6 separate regions of the Homo sapiens genome follow, and all the other regions are linked to region 4. Evidence: promoter capture Hi-C in 16 types of primary human blood cells and fetal thymus (Javierre and others, 2016). All regions are on one chromosome and are shown on one strand. The core of a region is centred on a gene start or on the middle of the fragment in contact, and the rest is flanking DNA. Distances in the headings are between cores, read along the strand shown. Region 1 overlaps ALDH1L2 (aldehyde dehydrogenase 1 family member L2). Region 2 overlaps ALDH1L2 (aldehyde dehydrogenase 1 family member L2). Region 3 overlaps ALDH1L2 (aldehyde dehydrogenase 1 family member L2). Region 4 holds the start of EID3 (EP300 interacting inhibitor of differentiation 3). Region 5 overlaps NOPCHAP1 (NOP protein chaperone 1). Region 6 overlaps APPL2 (adaptor protein, phosphotyrosine interacting with PH domain and leucine zipper 2).

The links. The method cuts DNA at HindIII sites, captures the fragments that hold promoters and counts their contacts. A CHiCAGO score of 5 or more calls a contact.
Region 1: a fragment that was not itself captured here is called in contact with the fragment with the promoter of EID3 in region 4 in 2 of 17 cell types (M0 macrophages and naive B cells); the score reaches 5.4 in M0 macrophages.
Region 2: a contact is called between a fragment that was not itself captured here and the fragment with the promoter of EID3 in region 4, in 1 of 17 cell types (M0 macrophages). The highest score is 5.8, in M0 macrophages.
Region 3: a contact is called between a fragment that was not itself captured here and the fragment with the promoter of EID3 in region 4, in 4 of 17 cell types (total CD4 T cells, monocytes, naive CD8 T cells and 1 more). The highest score is 7.0, in total CD4 T cells.
Region 5: a contact is called between a fragment that was not itself captured here and the fragment with the promoter of EID3 in region 4, in 2 of 17 cell types (M0 macrophages and naive B cells). The highest score is 5.6, in M0 macrophages.
Region 6: a fragment that was not itself captured here is called in contact with the fragment with the promoter of EID3 in region 4 in 2 of 17 cell types (M2 macrophages and total B cells); the score reaches 7.8 in M2 macrophages.

The regions. Positions count from the first base shown.
Region 1 is chr12:105,064,816-105,067,941 of GRCh38, reverse strand. ALDH1L2 (aldehyde dehydrogenase 1 family member L2) reads left to right here. Exons shown (of 23, transcript NM_001034173.4): 5 at 1,273-1,374; 6 at 2,586-2,675. Among named protein-coding and RNA genes, the nearest start is that of ALDH1L2, 18 kb to the left of the region's middle. The HindIII fragment of the contact is 7,481 bases long and covers 1-3,126 here.
Region 2 is chr12:105,018,848-105,022,168 of GRCh38, reverse strand. ALDH1L2 (aldehyde dehydrogenase 1 family member L2) reads left to right here. Exons shown (of 23, transcript NM_001034173.4): 23 at 1-2,379. Among named protein-coding and RNA genes, the nearest start is that of NOPCHAP1, 34 kb to the right of the region's middle. The HindIII fragment of the contact is 974 bases long and covers 935-1,908 here.
Region 3 is chr12:105,038,490-105,041,674 of GRCh38, reverse strand. It overlaps ALDH1L2 (aldehyde dehydrogenase 1 family member L2), which reads left to right. Exons shown (of 23, transcript NM_001034173.4): 16 at 981-1,068; 17 at 1,869-1,962. Among named protein-coding and RNA genes, the nearest start is that of ALDH1L2, 44 kb to the left of the region's middle. The HindIII fragment of the contact is 6,154 bases long and covers 1-3,185 here.
Region 4 is chr12:104,302,467-104,305,718 of GRCh38, reverse strand. It overlaps EID3 (EP300 interacting inhibitor of differentiation 3), which reads right to left and starts at 1,980. Exons shown (of 1, transcript NM_001008394.3): 1 at 514-1,980. The coding sequence starts at 1,784. The coding sequence ends at 783. The region is part of intron 4 of TXNRD1 (thioredoxin reductase 1); the gene reads right to left. RefSeq lists enhancers at 1,543-1,602, 1,633-1,872, 1,180-2,052 and a silencer at 1,913-2,142. The HindIII fragment of the contact is 794 bases long and covers 1,885-2,678 here.
Region 5 is chr12:105,000,467-105,003,675 of GRCh38, reverse strand. It overlaps NOPCHAP1 (NOP protein chaperone 1), which reads right to left. Exons shown (of 4, transcript NM_152318.3): 4 at 1-3,209. Among named protein-coding and RNA genes, the nearest start is that of NOPCHAP1, 16 kb to the right of the region's middle. The HindIII fragment of the contact is 1,435 bases long and covers 982-2,416 here.
Region 6 is chr12:105,173,655-105,176,553 of GRCh38, reverse strand. APPL2 (adaptor protein, phosphotyrosine interacting with PH domain and leucine zipper 2) reads left to right here. Exons shown (of 21, transcript NM_018171.5): 20 at 472-519; 21 at 2,106-2,899. The coding sequence ends at 2,240. Among named protein-coding and RNA genes, the nearest start is that of APPL2, 61 kb to the left of the region's middle. The HindIII fragment of the contact is 7,746 bases long and covers 1-2,899 here.

The sequences.
Region 1 (3,126 bases), core at 533-3,032, 760 kb before region 4:
CCACCTGACTTGTAGGGTGGTTGTGGAAATTAAGTGACACTATTTGTGCAAAGCATCTGGCCCATGGTAGGTGCTCATAAAATGATCATTACAATCAACATAGCATTTTGTGTGTTCAGTGATATTTGCTGAAGCCCAGATTCTAGACCTAGTTATAGCCTAGATGGAGGTGGGTGGAATGAGCTGTAAACTTGGCTCTGTTCCCCTGTGGCTCCCTCCGTGTGCTCTTGGGTGGGTTGGTCAGCAGCTGTGAGTCCTTAGAGAGAAATCTGAGAACTTGAACTCACGTGGGCCTCGCAGTGAAAATGGGAGGCTCTCGACTCAAGGCAAACGTAAATATAACAGAGAAGAAAATGCAGGACACCTCCCAAAGGCAATCAAGCTCATGGATAGATTTTAACTTTTTTTATTCCAGGTCTCCTAAACTAGAAAGCAAGTTGAATTCATTAAATACAGTAAGGTATCATTTTTTAGAATCATCATGATGAGTAAAATAACTCATAAAGACTTATTTTATCATTATATTCCTATCATTTCCAGTGAATCACTAAGGGAGGTGGCAGTTTGTTTAAACAAGGGAGTCATTTTTGAGAGTGCAGACTTCGATTGGCAATAGATAGACCTGGATACAAATCCTGTTTCTGACACCTACAAGCTCTCTCTGTGATCTTCAGCCAATTGCTTAGCTCTTTTTCTTTTTCTTTTCTTTTTTTTTTTTTTTTTTTTGAGACAGAGTCTCGCTCTGTCGCCCAGGCTGGAGTGCAGTGGTGTGATCTCGGCTCACTGCAAGCTCTGCCTCCCGGGTTCACGCCATTCTCCTGCCTCAGCCTCCTGAGTAGCTGGGACTACAGGCGCCCACCACCACGCCCGGCTGATTTTTTGTATTTTTAGTAGAGACGGGGTTTCACCGTGGCCTCGATCTCCTGACTTCGTGATCCGCCTGCCTTGGCCTCCCAAAGTGCTGGGATTACAGGCGTGAGCCACTGCGCCCGGCCTTGCTTAGCTCTTTTTCTGTCAGTTTCCTCAGGTGTAAAACAGGAATAACAATATACACCTTGCAGGATTTGTGTTATGTTTTCAAGGGATATTTTACATAAAGTAGCTACCACACTGCTTGTCAGGATGGACCTGAAGAAATGGTAGTTATCATCATACTCTTGACTCTCTGAACAGGTTTATAGGTAGTAATTCTGTTATGCAGAAACTTTAGTCAAATAGACCATGCCATTGTTGATCATTGGGCTGTAACACAGGTGATGTCTTTGGCCTTAGGTAGAAGCTGTCCAACTCATAGCTGATGGAAAAGCTCCTCGTATACCCCAGCCAGAAGAAGGGGCAACATATGAAGGTATCCAGAAAAAGGAAAATGCTGAGGTATTTATATATCAACTCAATAACACGTCTCAGAGTTCATGGCCCTCTACCCTTCAGTAGTTCCCCACATACTATGATCTTGCCAAAAGGTAAGCCAGCTTGCCCTAGCCCTACCTGTTAGAGTAGACAGGTAGCCAGACATACGCAGGAGAGGGGAGTCCCCTAAAGAAAATAAAGTCTAGGAAGACTCGTGTCTGGAAGACCACTCAAAATTTGCATATTAATAGTATCTCTAATGCTGGAGTGGGTGGGCACTTAGTCAAATGTGCATAGAAAGGAGAGGAGATACTATGCAAACAAACAAACAAACAAGCAAATAAAAAATGCCCAGAAACGCCTCTTCAGTCTGCCCAACAATCCTTCGCTCTGCAGTTAAAATGTCAAAATATCACTAGCTACATGCTAATGAAAAGGGCAAAGGGGATATTCCTTAAAAAATCTGGCATGCTAGGTGCGCTGGGCACAGTGGCTCATGCCTGTAATCCCAGCACTTTGGGAGGCTGAGGGAGGAGGATCACTTGAGACCAGGCATTCGAGACCAGCCTGGCCAACACAGTGAGACCCCTGTCTCAAAAAACAAAAAACAAAAACCTGGAGCCATAAGTTCAGCTTAGGGCAGAGAAGGAAATTCCAAAAAAACACACAGATGCAGTAGGTATAGATTTGGCCACTATACAACCTCCCTGCAGTGACAATAGTAAACAACACAGGCATCAGGTAATATTCATATCCAACACCAATCCACACATACACACCAACTAATAATATGGAGGGTCCCATAAACCTGAGACAAAATCTAGGTGCGGACAAAGCAGAGAGCTAAGACAGACACAAACAAACTAGACAAAAAAAAAAAGAGGCAGAGACTTAACAGAGGTGGGAACTTCAAAAAAAAGTTCAACCTAATAAAAACCCAACATAAAACTCTCCAACAGCTACTGGCCTACTCCCCTCAACAGCCCGCTCTACTTCATCTTTACAAAGCATACTGTCCCTTTAAATAACCCTCTGCTTTTTATTTTCCTTTAATAAAGTCTCTTGTTTACTAAATCAGCCACCTGACAAAATACTTACTCCAAATAAAACTAAGAAGCAAAAATTCCTTTATTTCCCAATAACAAGTGTTTCTGCCTCTGATGACGAGAAGCGTTTTTATTGCCTTTGAGGTTCACAGCCATAGGAGGCTCAGCCTGTATTTTGTGCCTTCCTAGATTTCTTGGGACCAGTCTGCCGAAGTTTTACATAACTGGATTCGAGGTCATGATAAAGTCCCTGGAGCTTGGACAGAGATAAATGGACAGGTATGTTTTAGGGACCACTCCCCCCACCCCCCTCCCCGATTATTACCTTTGTAAGAGATATTACAGATAAATCTGGGCTTCCCATGGTTCTTCCTTGGTCATGAGGCAGGTCTGTGATTCACTCTCCCCTTTACTCAGCATGTATTAAGCATTTATTGTGCAGCAGACACTAAATCCAGCGCCTGATCTAAGGAGCCTGCAGTTTTATGGGGAGTGCAGAGAAGTGAATAAACATTCTCAGTGCAGTAAGATAAACGCTATCATGGAGGCTGAGACTCAGGCATGTTAGGAAAGGCTTCCTAGAAAAGCTCACTGCTTTGCTCGAGAAGAGTTAACCAGGTTGAGAGCAAGACAAGTAGGTGAAGCCCCAGAGATAAGAGACTCCAGCACCTGGTCAAGGACTTGCAAAAGGAGTTCAGTGAAGCCAGGGTCTGAACTGTGAGGACAGGCA
Region 2 (3,321 bases), core at 172-2,671, 720 kb before region 4:
ATACATAAAGTTACCAAGTGAACTGGAATTGGAACATCACCCTCCCCAGCCTGCTAGGTGATTTACTTAACACATAGAGTAATAAAATCATCGCTGTTGCTTTAGATCACGGATTATTTTGCTAATAATGCTAAGGATGAAGCTGTGATCTTATTATCACCTGAATCGGGAGGTGTGGACACTTTAAGCAGTTCCACTTTCCTTCTAATTCCCCATCCCCATGCCTTTGCTAAAGCTGTCCCTTTTGCTCTAACACCCTTCCTGGACCTTCCTACCCTAGCTGGGCTAAGTGTTTCTCCTCAGCGTTCCCACTTGTTTCAAACATAGCACTTACCACTTGTACTAAAATTACTTGCCTTCTTAATTAGATATGAACAACCCTCCCCAACTCCAGTATGGGCCTTCTGTCAATAATAATACGATATGACAGCTACCATTTATTAAGGGCCTCCTGTATGAAAGACCTTAGGCTAAGCATGTTTTAAATGTTATTTAATCTTCACAATCTCTGAAAAAAATGAAGAAATCAACGTGCTTTTCTTACTACCTCTACCCCTAAGCCATTATTACTTTTTTTTTTTTTTGAGACAGAGTTTTGCTCTTGTTGCCCAGGCTGCAGTGCAGTGGTGCAATCTTGGCTCACTGCAACCTCTGCCTCTTGGGTTCAAGCGATTGTCATGCCTTAGCCTTCCAAGTAGCTGGGATTACAGGTGTGTGCCACTACACCTGGCTAAGTAGAGATGGGGTTTCGCCATGTTGGCCAGGCTGGTCTTGAACTCCTGACCTCAAGTGATCCACCTGCCTCCGCCTCCCAAAGTGCTGGGATTACAGGCATGAACCACTGCACCTGGCCTGTTACCTCTTTCCTACAATTTTGCTCAAGTCTCCCAACTGGTCTTCTGGATTCCTCTCTTCTGCGGTCCTGTTCAAAGCTTAAGTCAGACAGTGTCACTTCACTCGTCTGTTTAAAACCTTTCAATGGCCCCCATTTCACGTAGACCAAAGTCCAACGTATTTACCTGGCCTACTGATCTTGCTCCTAGCTACCTCTGACCTCATCTCCTGTCAATTTCCCTCTCATTCTGTTCCACCATCCTGACTGCCTTGACTTCCTCAACAGAACAAGCCTGCTCCTGCCTCAGGGCCTCTGTCCTTATTCTTCCTCTTCCCAGGGGTGTGCTGGTAAAATATTTAACAAATAGTTCTCCGGGACGGGGGAGAAAACCCTCATTTGTAGCATTTGCAGGTATCTATGTGTAAATACTCTCATCAAGGCTATTTTTGAGCCACTAATTTGCCTTCACTGAATACAGAGTTTGGGAAGAGATGCATGCCATCAGAACAAATGCAAGCCAGCACCAGCACACCACTGCCTCTTCCTGCAACTCTTGTCCATACACAACCTCATGGCTGGCTGGCTCACTTCCTGCAGGTCTCTCCTCAAATATCATCTGATGAGAGACACATTCCCTGACTATGCTTTCTAAAATAGGCCATATGCCCCCACATTCATACCCCATCTGCTGTCATTCTTTATTCTTTTTATAAGTGCATTATTTTCATAGCACTTATCACTACCTGTTGTATATTAATCAATGATCTTTTCCCATTAGAATGTAAGTTTCATGAACAGGTACTTGTTTTAATACTGTATCTCCAGTCCTAATGTGTAACAGGAGCCCAATAAATGTTTGCTTTCAAATGGAGAGGTTAAGTAACCTGCTCAAATCACACAGCTATTAAGTGGCAGAACAGGTTTTCAAGCAATGCATCTGGTGGTTTTAACTAAGTCGAGATAGTTTTTATTCCTAATGCCTAAATCAGGGCCTAGGTAGTGAGCTGTGGGCACATATTAAGTATTGGTTAAACTAAAAATAATAAGCAAAATGGACATTATCTATAAAAGCTTTTGTGGAAATGGCTAGAGCTAGGGTAAGGAAACAAATTTGGTTCCCCATACCTGCCCTCCAAGAAAATAAAGCTGTCAAGGAAAATCTGGGCTAAGAGTAGGATATGAGGGATGATGGATAAGGCATGAGACATGAGAAATAAGGGGGATTAAATTATTATTACTATTATACAAATGATGCCTGAGTAGATTTTTAAAATGATTAAATACCCAATGATGTAAAAAACATTTATAAAATAGGAAAGTAAGACTGACTCAACCATAATTTGTTGAGTCAACCCAAAAATCTATTTGGTTATTTTCAAACAGAAATAGCCTACAGATGATATCTGAGATTGTTCCAAACTTTTTCTATGAATATGTATACTTTTTTTACATAATTAACATAATACTGTATATTAATTTGTTACCTGCTTTTTCAATTAACAATATATCATAAGCATCTATGCCAATAAACACAATTCTGCATATTTCAATGGCTTTAATTCAACATGTTGTCTATCGTCGGACATTTAGATTTGCTTTTTGCTATTTTAAATGTCACAAAAAATCTTATATAAAATTTATGACCAAAGCTACACTTATGTAATTAGAACAAATACCTGGAAGTGGAATTCCTGAATCAATAATCCCACCAACAATTTTCCCACATCTTTGCCAACATTGTGTATTACAAGTTATGCAATTAGTATCTCTATGCCAATTTTCTCAGCTGTGAAGTGAATATAAGCATATCTCACAAGGTGATAGGCTTTTTTGAAAAAAAAATAAGGAAATTTATTCTGCCACCAAAAACAGAGCCCAGCAATAGTGCAGTATACAAGTTATTTGATGCAGTGACTCTATAATGTTCTTTGCTCTTGTCTGCTATCTGTAGTGTGCTCACTTTACCCTCAAGAGCTGGCTCCATTCATGGCCACGAGAAAGGAGTTCCAGGAATCATATCCCATCATAATGATAGGGACAGGAGGCAGGAAAATTCTGAGCAGAAGAGGATGGGTCCCCAGCGAGGGCCCCACTCTTAAGCGTGGAACCACAGCCCAAAATGAGAACATGCATTCCCATTTTCCTGCTCGAATGTTGCCTTTTCCAAAACTATCCATGGCCCGCCCTACCCCAATCCTGTGCCCACAAAAACCCCAGCCCCTGCAAGTAGAGAGAGGAGAAGAGGAGCAGCAGCTGGCCGTCAAATACTACAGTTGGATGTTGGAGAGAAGCAGCTTGACTTCAGAGGGACAGCTTGACAGTGTTGCTTCAGAAAGGAGCCCAGCCAGGCCAGGGACAGCTGGACTCCGGGGGAAGATTATCTTCCCATTCTGTCGCCTTTTCAGCTCCCCTTCCCGCTGAGAGACGCTTTCATCGGCAATAAAATCCCCTGCATTTACCCTCTCCAATTTTCATGCAACCTCATT
Region 3 (3,185 bases), core at 215-2,714, 740 kb before region 4:
ACGTAAAAGGAATGAGGGAATTGGAAAATCACCATTTGGCAACCATCATGATACTTTAGGATTATTATCCAGAAATTATCCATGGACACTAAAACTAGTGGATAAAAATTTGAGGAGTATCTCCCCACAAAATATTTGTTAACTACAATGTATAAAATAGTAATTTACAGTGATGAAAGTTGGCAGACCACATTTGCCAAATAATCAAAACTAACTTTCCAGTATTGGAACTATTCTACAGCACGTGCCTCCTGATGTCCTGAGAAAAGCTCAGCATCGCTCCGGTGGCATTGTTCCCAAAAGTGCATAACTTGAATCTAACCATGCAAAAACATCAGACAAATCCAGACAAAGAGACATTGTATGAAATAACTGGCCTGTACTCTTCAAAAATGTCAGTGTAATGAAATAGAAAAGAGAACTGAGAAATTCTCCTAGATTACTGGAGACTACAGATAGAACTAAATGTAATGCAGATGTTGGATTTTCTTTTGCTGTAAGACATTATTGGGATAATTGGTGAAATCTGAATATGGTCTGCAAATCATGTATTCTATCAATTGTTAATCTCCTGATTTTGATGATTGTACTATGGTTATGTAAAAGAATTTCTTGTTTTATAGAAAATGCACACAGAAGTATTTAGAAGTATGGGGTATGTCTTTACCGTATTCTTAAACAGTTCAGAAACAGATATTCCTTAAATTTATCTTTAAAAAATAGTTTAGAAAAATATATACAGAAAGATAAAGCAAATGCAGTAAAATGTTAACATTTGAGGAATCTGAATGGAAATGTATATAAGGAATACTTGTACTATTTTTGCATCTTTTTGTAAGTCTGAAATTATGGCAAAAAAATAAGACAATGTACAATAAAAATAAAATGAGATCTAGTGCAGCTATCAAGGGAAAACTGGGTTCTGGGCTAAAGGTCAGGTTAGGGCCTGAAGAAGGTAATTGCTGTTTGCTTCTCCTCAGGTCACGCCCTTGACTGCTTTGAAGTTTGCAGAACTGTCTGTGAAAGCAGGCTTTCCAAAGGGGGTCATCAACATCATTCCAGGCTCAGGTAAGCCACTAAATGACCGACTGTGCTATAACTAATGAATGGTACTGGGGTAGCTGAGTGGCTCTTTTACCTCTAGAGACTTGTCCTGAATTATAACTGTATTAAAACTAAATACAATTCACCAAACAGTTAAGGATGAATATACTTACCATGTGCTAAAATCTTAAAATGGAAATACAGTGGTGGGTGAGTGGCAGTGGGGAGGGGGGTTGTACAGTCATGTAAAATTACCCTAAGATGTTCCATTTTGATTTTCAAAAACTACTCTGGAAGATAAAAATCAAGGCTTACCCATCATTATTTTGGGAGTCTGATAATTTCATAAAGGGTATTATTTCAGACTTTTATCAGTTTGTAATTAATACAGAAAATGTAAAACTAAGGTGTCAAGGAGAGCTTAGAAATCTACTTCAATGAATTTAAAGCCATCTTCACTATAAGAATTTGAGTAAGGTTTTTTTTTTTTTTTTTTTTTTTTTTTGAGACGGAGTCTCACTCTGTTGCCCCGGCTGGAGTGCAAAGGCGCGATCTTGGCCCACTGCAACCTCCGCCTCCTGGGTTCAAGTGATTCTCTCTCAGCCTCCTGAGTAGCTGGGATTACAGGCGTGTGCCACCATGCCTGGCTAATTTTTATATTTTTAGTAGTGACAGGGTTTCACCATGGTGGTCAGGCGGGTCTCGATCTCCTGACCTTGTGATCTGCTTGCCTCAGCCTCCCAAAGTGCGGGGATTACAGGCGTAAGCCACCGCGCCCGGCCTTGAGTATGTTTTAATTCCCGTTTTATTCCCTAATTCTACAGGTGGCATAGCAGGACAACGTCTGTCTGAACATCCTGACATCCGCAAACTTGGTTTCACTGGATCCACTCCTATTGGCAAACAGATCATGAAGAGGTATTGGTTTTAAAATGTTGATTCACTGCAGATCCTGTTAAACTAGGTTTCAATTTTTGTTTAAACAGGGTACTTTTTGAGTGAGAAAAACTACATCAACTTTGGAAGGGAAATCTACTTATCACTGCTGAGTATTGAAATATTTGAATACAATAAAATACTTTCCAAAGCATTAAAGCCCAGAGTCAATAAAACCAAAGCTATGTTGAAATTCTGTGCCCTACTGGTAGTTTTAACAATTCAGCACAAAAGACTTCCTGTATTAAAGCTGTGGCCCAAATTGTTCTCAGAGTATGGGTAAAAAACCAAAAAGATACATAAATGTGAAATTTATATATTTTATATGACAAACCTGGATTATTTATAAATGGAGTCCGCCAAAGCAATTTTTTTTTAAGCTGTAAGCAATCTAAATGTCCAAAATAAAGCAGTTGTTAAAATATGTCAATGTAATGGAACACTGTGCAGTCATGTTCATAGAGAATTTTAATAACATTGAAAAGTGTTGTTAAAATAATAAATGGAAATAAAAATAAAGTATAACATTGTATACACTGGATGATCTCAACTATGTTAAACAACGCAAAAGCTATGGTAGGACAGATCACAAATAGGTAGTATATCAAAATGGTAAAAACAATGGTCACTGAGGCATGGAATGGAATTTTGTGATTTTTTTCTTCTGTTTGCATTTTGGGGTAGGTATTTTCAAAATGCTTTAAATAAAAATACTTTTGTAAGAAAGGAAAAATAAGCAGCGTACTTTTAAAAATTGATATTTTTTCTCCCAATGCTTCGGTAGTCTGGTTAGAGGTTTAATTCTTTTGCCAGGCTTTTATGTAACCAAAATTTCTAAAGAATTTGAATTAACTTTTGACCACAACATTTTTGAAATTTTTTTATTATGGAAAATGTCTAATACATAGAAAGCAGAAAAGCAAAATGAATTTTATGTACTCATCACTCAGCTTCAATGGTAATCACCATTCTACCATCTGTTTTATCTATGAATAACTTTTTCCTTTTTCTTTCTTTTTTTCTTTTTTAAGAGACACGGTCTAACACTGTCACCCAGGCTGGAGTGCAGTGGTGATCACAGCTCACTGCAGCTTTGAATTCCTGGGCTCAAACGATCCTCCTGCCTCAGCCTCCCAAGTAGCTGACACTACAGTCACACACCACCATACCTACCTAATTTTCTTATTTTTTATAGAGATGAGGTC
Region 4 (3,252 bases), core at 731-3,230:
AAAAACATCTTCTCAGGATATTAATAGATGAAGTTATTCAATTGTTGCCCAGCTTATCAAATATAATAGTTTTTCCATAAATCTAATGGTCCTCTCGTGCCTAACTTCTAACAATTCCATGCATTTGACCTTGCTATTCTCTTGCCTAGAATGCCTTTTCCTTCTTCGTGTTTCTACTCACCTTTCACCCTTAGCTGATACCTCAACTACTACAGCAGAGACACTACTTTTGCTGAGTACAATAACAGAAATTGTTTAGAATATGGATACTCACTCATAAATCCTAAGTCTTCCTTGCAATGACTTTTTTAGTCTTAATGTTGCATATTCACTGCCTTACAGACAGGTTTTTTTTTTTAACTTTTGTTTTTTACCCACTCTTTGCCCAACCTGGTTAGGAACCCTTTCTGGGATTCTCTTGGTTCCCTATGACAGAGAAAGCAACGCATCACAGAGCATCATCACTGATTTTCGTAAATTATTATGTTTTGCAAATTATCAAATATCCCTTAATTTGGTATCCAAAACTTGTTTTTATTAATAGTCTTAAAGGGCATTCAATAAAACGTTCCCATAAATATGCCAGTGAATTTGTTTTAATAACAGAAGATCATGACCTTATAAATTACTAAGAAAAATATGCTGCACAGTAAAACAATGTCTGATGTTCTTGAAAATACTTTTTCACTTTACAAGAGATACAATATGTGCTTCAGTTTACATTTTACTCTCCATCTAACTTCAGAAAAAAAACACAAAAAGGATGCTATACTAAGAAATCTTTAGTATGAGGAGTATGTAATCATAGCCTCAGAAATTTCAAAAGCTGCCACAATGTTTTTCCACTCCTGTAAAGTCAAAGATATAACTCCCTGTTTCCTGCCATGGCAACTGGAATCATTTCCCTCACCCATTTGGTTAACATTCATCGGCTCTAATATTGGCAGCCTGTCTTCATCAAGCCTTATTCTTGCAAAACCATCTCTTACAATAAAAGAAACATAAAATATATTCTCCACAGTACGAGAAAAAGAGTTTGGATCAATCACAAACTCAAAATAGGACACAGGAGTATCAGGATACTTTCGAAAGTAGGTTTGCAACAATCCCAAAATCCTTTCTACGTTTTTTTCTGTCGCTTCTGGATAACTACTCAGGTCCAACTTCTGCAACTTTGTAGGCATGTTGCCATTTTCTTCCATCTTGCGAACTTTTTTCTGGTGTTCAAGTCGGGGCTTTGGTGCAGAACGTTCTAGCTTGAATGAACCAAAAACAAAATGGAATGTCTCAGCTTTTACCATCCAGGATGTTGCTTCCTTTTCTATTGCCTTCCAGAAGGAAAGAGCTATGCTATCATCACAATCACTCAACTTGTCAGGATCGCCTTCCATCCAATTCAGACCCACGAACAGAAACAGAAAGTCACAAAATGCTAACTGATTAAAGAAGTTCATATCTGAGTTTAACTGCTTTGCCTTTTCTTTACCCAAATCAGAAGCCATAACAAGAAACCGGGCGTCGAGGGCTGCTTCTCTGGTTCGGCTCACGCCATCAAAGAGGACGTTGGCTTCCTCCAGAGCCTCGGTTAAGGAGTTGTTCGCCGAGCTCACGATGTCCTCCCGGTTCTGCCGCACGCAGTACATGAGCTGCCGGTACTGCCTGCGGATGCTGCGGCACTTCTCCTCGTCAGCGGTGAGCTCCAGGAGCTTTGGGTCTACGTCGGCCTCCCCAGAGCTGAGGTCGTCGGAGCAGCCCGCGGCCCTCACTGACACATCCATCTTCATCAGCGCTCCCTCCGCCGCCGCCTACTTCGCCGCGTACTCGCTACCGGGGATGATCACGAGCTGCTCCTCTCCTTTCTCTTCGTCTCCCTTCCGGGAAGCTTTTTCAACCAACATGCCGGCCACGGGTATCTCTGAGGTAACGGCCCTCCCAGCGTGTGGAAAGTGGCGGCAGTTAGAGCCGAGGACGCCCGCCCATGCGCACTAGCGGCCCGGCCCGGCGCGACCCGCCCCCAGCACGCTCCGCGGGAAGACAGCCCCGCCCCGGCCCGGCCCAGCCACAAGCCGAGGCGCTCGCTCATAGACCAGCGCGGCGCTCCCAACACGCGCAATGATGGGCCCTGACCTCACACGCGACTAATGCCCGCTCAGGGGACAGCTATTCTTTTTCAAAGCGTTTACCGACTGGATCACCTCACTTTAAAAAAAAACACTTTTGGACAACTTTACACAAAACTATTGAGGAGACTAAAGGTCCTGCGCTTTAAAACGCTCGCTGCCATCATATACTGCAGTGAGGTCGACCTGGTTTTGGTTTTTTGTGAACTAAATCTGGCTGGACTGTAAACCGTCGGTAAGGCCAAGGACCGTGAAAAGCAGAAACTCCATTAAGCAGGCTAAACTCTCAGTTCTTTTGCAAGGTGGTGTTTGGACTCATTATACAAATGTAAATCGGGTTAATTACTTTCACATGTCCTCTTAAAAACCAAGCCCCCTCCAATACCCATCCTGAGTATCTGTGGGATCGGGGGAGCCTCCAATATCCGTGCTAACCCCTGCAGGAAACTGGGTGCTGGGCACGGGCATTACTCAGGTGAACTTTGGTTCTCCACTACCCAGGAGTGGAAGAATAGAATGGGTAGAGATCTCTGCAAAAGAGCTATTTACTTGGAAGCTTGCCAACAGCTAAAGGCCACCGACACTGAATGGGTAGTAACTCTGAACCCTAAAAGGTGGGCAAAGCTATGAAAATTTCAGATACAGTCTAAGGATATGAAAGCTTAATCTGTAAACTGGGTGAGTAATCTGCGTGGGAAAATTTACCCATTGGATTTAATGGGGTCACTGGAAACTCAAGTGCAGTTAAAGACGTGACTCCTTATCTGTCTCACCAGCAGCAAATAGCAAAGTATACATAACAATGGGAATGGCCGGGCGCGGTGGCTCACGCCTGCAATCCCAGCACTTTGGGAGGCCGAGGCGGGCGGATCACGAGGTCAGGAGATCGAGACCATCTTGGCTAACCCGGTGAAACCCCGTCTCTACTAAAACTACAAAAAATTAGCCGGGCGCGGTGGCAGGCGCCTATAGTCCCAGCTACTCGGTAGGCTGAGGCAGAAGAATGGCGTGAACCCAGGAGGCGGAGTTTGCAGTGAGCCGAGATCGGGCCACTGCACTCCAGCCTGGGCTATAGAGCGAGACTCCGTCTCAAAAAAAAAAAAAAAAAAAAAGGGAATGAATACATCTGGTT
Region 5 (3,209 bases), core at 450-2,949, 700 kb before region 4:
TTGTCTAGAGGTTTTAACAATTAAGTTTTTGGTGTCAGAAGTGGCGTCCAAAGGCGACTTCCAACAACCGCCCAGGAGCACCCTAGTGACCAAATGAATGTATTTGCTGGGTCTATTGTAACCATTCCTCTCTCACAGCAACTGGAGGTTGTGTGTGATTTCCCTTTCAGATTAAAGCTACACAGATTTGTGTTTTGAGCTCTCCAAATTTACTTGAACAATTCTTTTACCAAACAGGGTCCAGAGACTGGGTCCAGTAGAAGGCCTATGATAAGTCACAAGAAGACAGGGAATCATGAGTTCATCTGGATCCATGGAGTCTAGAACTCCTCCATCTGGAACTATAGCCAATTTCGTGTATAAGAACTACAGACTCAGGGCATGTTGCTTTTCTAGAAAAATGAAACTCACACACACACAAAAAAAATTAGAATTCCAGTGGCCCACAGTGGGAAAGTTTTAACCTACATAAACTTGTTCACTTGCAAGGCACACTACAAAAGAAAGAATCCAAAATGCTTCATAAGCAATGAGATGCATTCTTTAAATTGGTACATACAGGTAGTAAAAGATTCCTTACAGAAGGCAAATGAAAACCTTAAGTAGCTTAAGGATGATACAAAAAAAGACTGTATCTTGACTGATTCAAACCTGTTTTGTTCTTTCTCTTTACCCATCTTTACCTCAATACTCTGAGTCTAATAACCTTTTTGCTCAACTACTCTTTCATTCTAAAGATAATGAGAAAAGGCAAGTTAGACAAATGCCTTACAAAATGGGATTCTCTGATCAGCCAGGCCTGCCTGCCATAACCACCTTTACTCCATGGTCAAAAATTAAGCTTCCAGACACGGTAAAAGACTTCCCTAGCCCAGGGAAAACACTCAAAAATGTACTGAAGATTTTAGAATTTGCACAGGAGCTTACAAGCCAGGACTCTCTGACCAATTTATTCATATGATACTGGGACATGGCAAAGCTTGAAAATGTATGACAAGAGAATGGGAAAAACTTAATCAGGATATTAAAGACTCCCCCAAAACCTCATCAAGAGTAGGGCCAATGAGACCTAGAAAAATTGTTGAAAACCTTTAAAATTCAATTCCTAAGATTTTGCTACAAAAAATTGATTGGTCCATCATACAATCTCATAGACAAAAAATAGAATGAACCAGTTTCAGATTACAGGGTCCATTCAGAAAGACTATTTGTAAAACATTCCAGGTTCCAATACACCAAGGGATACTTCTGGCAGTGCCTGAAACAGGATTAACTGCTCTATTTGTAAATGGAGCTCATCCTGAACTTAGTAACCTGAATAAAAAACACAAACCAGGATGGGAGGTTATAGATATGATTGAATTGGTGGCCCTAGCCCAACATTTTGAGAGAATAGAGTAAGTAAAAGACTAAAGGTCGAAAAGCTCATGTCTCTCTAATTACAATAACCACAAAGACCAAGACCAAAGGGACTTCCTCTCCCTTATTTTAAGCTAAAACCAAGAGATCTTAGACCAAGAAATTATTTGCCCTAAGGTGTCTCCCTTCATTGCAAACAACTAGGATGCTGGAAAAGAGATTTTGCATTCTTATTTCAGTATACCAGTAAGCCTCCTTCCTTGGGGCCATACTATTTCCCCACTAGAATGAGTCCACAAGGTCTTAACTCTAGAGATAATAATCAACATTGATGAGCATCCAAGGAATTCTCCAGAAAACTGCTCCCCATAATACCTTTAAATAAACATGGATAAACAGCAACTCAAAGTACTATTAAAAAAAGAAAAGAAATAAACATGGAAAAACAAAAGTTAAAACAAATGAAAAATCTTATACAATTCTGGTGGATACTAGAGCCACTTTCATCTACTATAAACTCTACCTTAATAAGCTAATACATCCCTCAGAGTAAAAATGTTTACTCTGTGGAAACATTATTTCTGTGGTAGGGTTTCAAATCAAGTTGAAAAGGTTCCCATACTGGAAGCCATCCAACTGACACTGGTGTCATTTACAGAAAATCATACTTTTTAATTATGTGATACTGCCCCAGTAAATCTGCTGGGGCAAGACTTGCTCTCCAAGGCAAAAGGGCATATAAAATTCTCTTTCAGAGGGACAAATAATCTTAGAGTTTCCTGACTCTCCTGAACCAGAACTGTTATGCTCTCTAAAGGCAGAAATTGAAAAAATATTGGTGGGATGACTATTCTAAAATTGCTAAAATGGCTTATAACTAATGTTTGGTTTATCAAGCTCATAATCCTGGAAAGATAATCCAAATTTTAGGTGGTACATTTCTACTGCCTCCTGGACCATTTGAATGTTTACAGATGGATTTCATCAATTGCCACCCTTAATGGGATAACAATATGTTCTTATAAAAGTCTTTGTGTTCTCTAGACGGATAGAAGCTTTATCATGTAGGAAGGCCAATGCTATGACAATAAGTTATTAGAAAGTATGTTTCCTTCTGGGGCTTCCCTGGAGGAATTTCCAGCAATAGAAGAACCTGTTTCACTGGACAAGTTATAAAACAGCTAAAACAGTTAATCGAACACAATGGTATTACCATCATCCCTAACACCCTTAATCTTCTGGAAAGCTCAAAAGAACAAATGAAACTTTAAACTGAAATTGGTAAAGTTAACTGAATTGATTGAATTGCCTCGTCCAAAGGTATTACCATTGGCCTTATGGGCAACTAGATCCACCCCAACAGAAAATACAAAATAAATTAGTTTCTTATGAAATAGTTACTGAAAAACCTATGCCCCTAATAATTAAACCTCATATATCTCCTGCTCCTGTAAACTGACATGACTAAATACTGCAAGGCCTTAATGTATTATGCCAAAGTATATTTTCACCAGGTTAAAAAAAAAGCCTTTCACGATCTATCAATGGAGGACAACCAAGCATTTCACAATCTGGAACATGGAGATTGGGTCTTCTGAAAACAACATCAGTGAAACACTGCCCTCAAACCCCTATGGAAGGGACCATACCAAATTCTTACCATCCACACTGCAGCAAAAGTTCAGACCCTCAAGACTTTTGCTGCAGTATGGGTGGTAAGAATTTGATCATGGATCAAGAGTTCTCTTCTCTGTCATCATGATAACTATGTCCCTTTTCTTTTTCCCTTATTTCCTATTGTCTTAATCTTTCCTTTTCCTTACAGGAAAATCCATAGGACCATAATTTGC
Region 6 (2,899 bases), core at 393-2,892, 870 kb before region 4:
ATAGAGAATAATTTAGTCTCAGAGAGAAAACCAAGGAAGATATTAGAAAAGTTACACACAAGCTGTTGGTTTAGTATGAAAAACTTTTGACTCTATCTGCTACTTAGAATTTATCACAATTAACCAATCCTTTCAGTAAATTATCTGTTTGCCACTGTGTATATGGACATATCGTGGCTAAATACATTTAAGAGAGAGAAGAAAAATTCCTATTAAGAACTTTTAACACTGGAATTACCTGAGTTTCACTTACCTGGAATATTTTTTGTGTGGCATAAATTGGCAACAGAGGTCAGGACAGTTGGACGCAAATGCCCCGGGCCCTATGTGATGAGTCTCCTGCAGCCAGGTCCTGTGTTCCCAAGTGGGAACAGTGAGAACAGTGACCTCACTGTACTCCCAAATCACATTTGTTCTAAAATTTTATCCTTCTCTACTTTTGCCAATCACTACTTTTCTTGTCTTTTGCAGATATGTTATGCTATTAATTTGGGAAAAGAAATTATTGAGGTTCAGAAGGTAAGATGCATTCTAGCGCTGGTTTAGTAGCTACTCAAAACACATCTGTGTACACATACCAAGAGTCTTTTCAAAAAGAAAAGTGATGTTCACTGGAAAGTGTGGCCAAGTTTGGGATTTCCTTTTAAAAGTATTCTAACCACCAGAGGTTTTTGATCAGCTAGTTCCATGTTCACTGTTAACACATGAGGACTTCTTATCACTGCTGGAGCTCCTGCTTATCTGTTTTCTTGCTTGCATACTAGTTGGCTAGATTTCCTCTTTCAGATTAAGATGATAGATAAGTACCCACCGTGTGCTGCTCTAAGGCCTTGCTCCTCAGAGTATGATCACATGCCCCACAGCATTGACAGACGTCACCTGGGAGCTTTTAAGAAATGAGGATTCTGAGACCTCCCTGTCTTTCAGCAGCTTTTAATCTTTTGTTCATTCAGCAAATTTTTGAGAGCCTAGTTTGTGTAATTGAACAAGACAGATATAGTCCCTGCCCCCAGGGGGCTTCTAGTTCAGCAATGTACAGAACTTTCTGCAATAATGGAAATGATTTATATCTGCACAATTTAATATGCAGATTGAATATGGCAAGTGTGACTGAGGAACTGGATTTTTAAATTTAACTCAAATTTACATAGTAACATGTAGCCAGTGGCTACCATATTAGTGCAGTTCAGTCTTGGAGAGGTCAGAAAGACCAAGGACTAAGGCCACATACATGAAATAGTGGCAAGCACTGTAAGCTAGTATTTAATGGTATTGGTCAAAAGTTGGCAAACTTTTTCTATAAAGGGTCTTTATGTTTTTGGCTATCTCCCTTGCAACAGATTCAACTCTGCTATCATAAGACAAAAGCAGGCCAGGCATGGTGGCTTATGCCTGTAATCCCAGCACTTTGGGAGGCAGAGGCAGGAGGATCACCTGAGGTCAGGAGTTCAAGACCAGCCTGGCCAACATGGTGAAACCCCATCTCTACTAAAAATACAAAAATTAGCCGGGTGTGGTGGTGCACACCTGTAGTCCCAGCTACTCGGGAGACTGAGGCACAAGAATCGTTTGAACCGGGGAGGCGAAGGTTGCAGTGAGCTGAGATCATACCACTGCTCTCCAGCCTGGGCGATAGAGCGAGACTCTGTCTCCAACCGCCGCACCACCCCCCCCCCCACCAAAAAAAAGCAGCAGCAGCATGGACAGTATGTAAATAAATGGCCGCAGCTGTTTTCCAATAAAAATCAAATGGTTAGCCAAATGACCATAGTTTGCCAACTTCTGGTATAGATTAAACGTGAGAAAAGAAGGAGTTTAAAGATAGAGAAGACAAAAGTTCTGTGAAGGAAGTTCCTCTGTGGAATCTTTGGGAAGATGATACGAATTGACTACGTAAACAATATTTTGGCTCAGAGGAAAACAGTCTAGATTCTAGAAGTGACATGCCTGAGTTTGAGAAGCAAGGAGACTCAGCGGAAGGCACATATACACAAGAGTCAGGAGAAACAAGACTAGATTACAGAACATATTGAAAGCCAGGCCAAAGGGGTTTAAATGCATCTTAAGCCTTTTCTTTTTTCCCTTTTAAACTCTCCTAACTTCAGGATCCAGAAGCACTGGCTCAATTAATGCTGTCCATACCACTAACCAATGACGGAAAATATGTACTGTTAAACGATCAACCAGATGACGATGATGGAAATCCAAACGAACATAGAGGCGCAGAATCCGAAGCATAACTCACTTGCGCCTGTGGGGGAAGAGCAAACAGGAAGGAGAGCTACCTCCTAAGGGTTTTAACGTCTCTGACATACAGGCACACTGACCTGATTTCCGAAGGCTGACAATCGTTTGTGGAATGTAATCTTGATGCCTTGATACTGAGACTTGGGAGGGAAACTAAGAAATGGTTGACAGCGTTCCCACCCATCTACAATGTTATTTTAGGTGCTTTGTGGTAAGTCTTTTTTCTTAGATTGCGCTAAAATTTCTTAGATTGTTCAGCGCTCAGAACAAAAGTTTGAAAAATGCATTGTTCATATGAATGTCATCTCTTTTCAGTTTCCAGTATCCTTTTTAAAAAATGGCAAAAGCCTAGATTTACAATTTGATGAACACTAAATATTTCTTATTAATATAATCTATTTTTGTATTTTACTTAATGAGCTTTAAGTGCCTGTCGTTCTGAAAATTGTGTATTTATAATTCAGCTTATCTCATAATTGGACCTAATAGCATTTCTTTGTGCAGTTAGGTGATGAGCACTGCTTTGAGGCCCAAGCACTAGTAGAGATGCGCGATACAGGTCTAGTTTCGGTAACTGTTCCAGACATCAAGCAATAAAAAAATGAATACCACAAAAGATGTTTGATTTTACAGTGGAGCCTTACTGAACCAG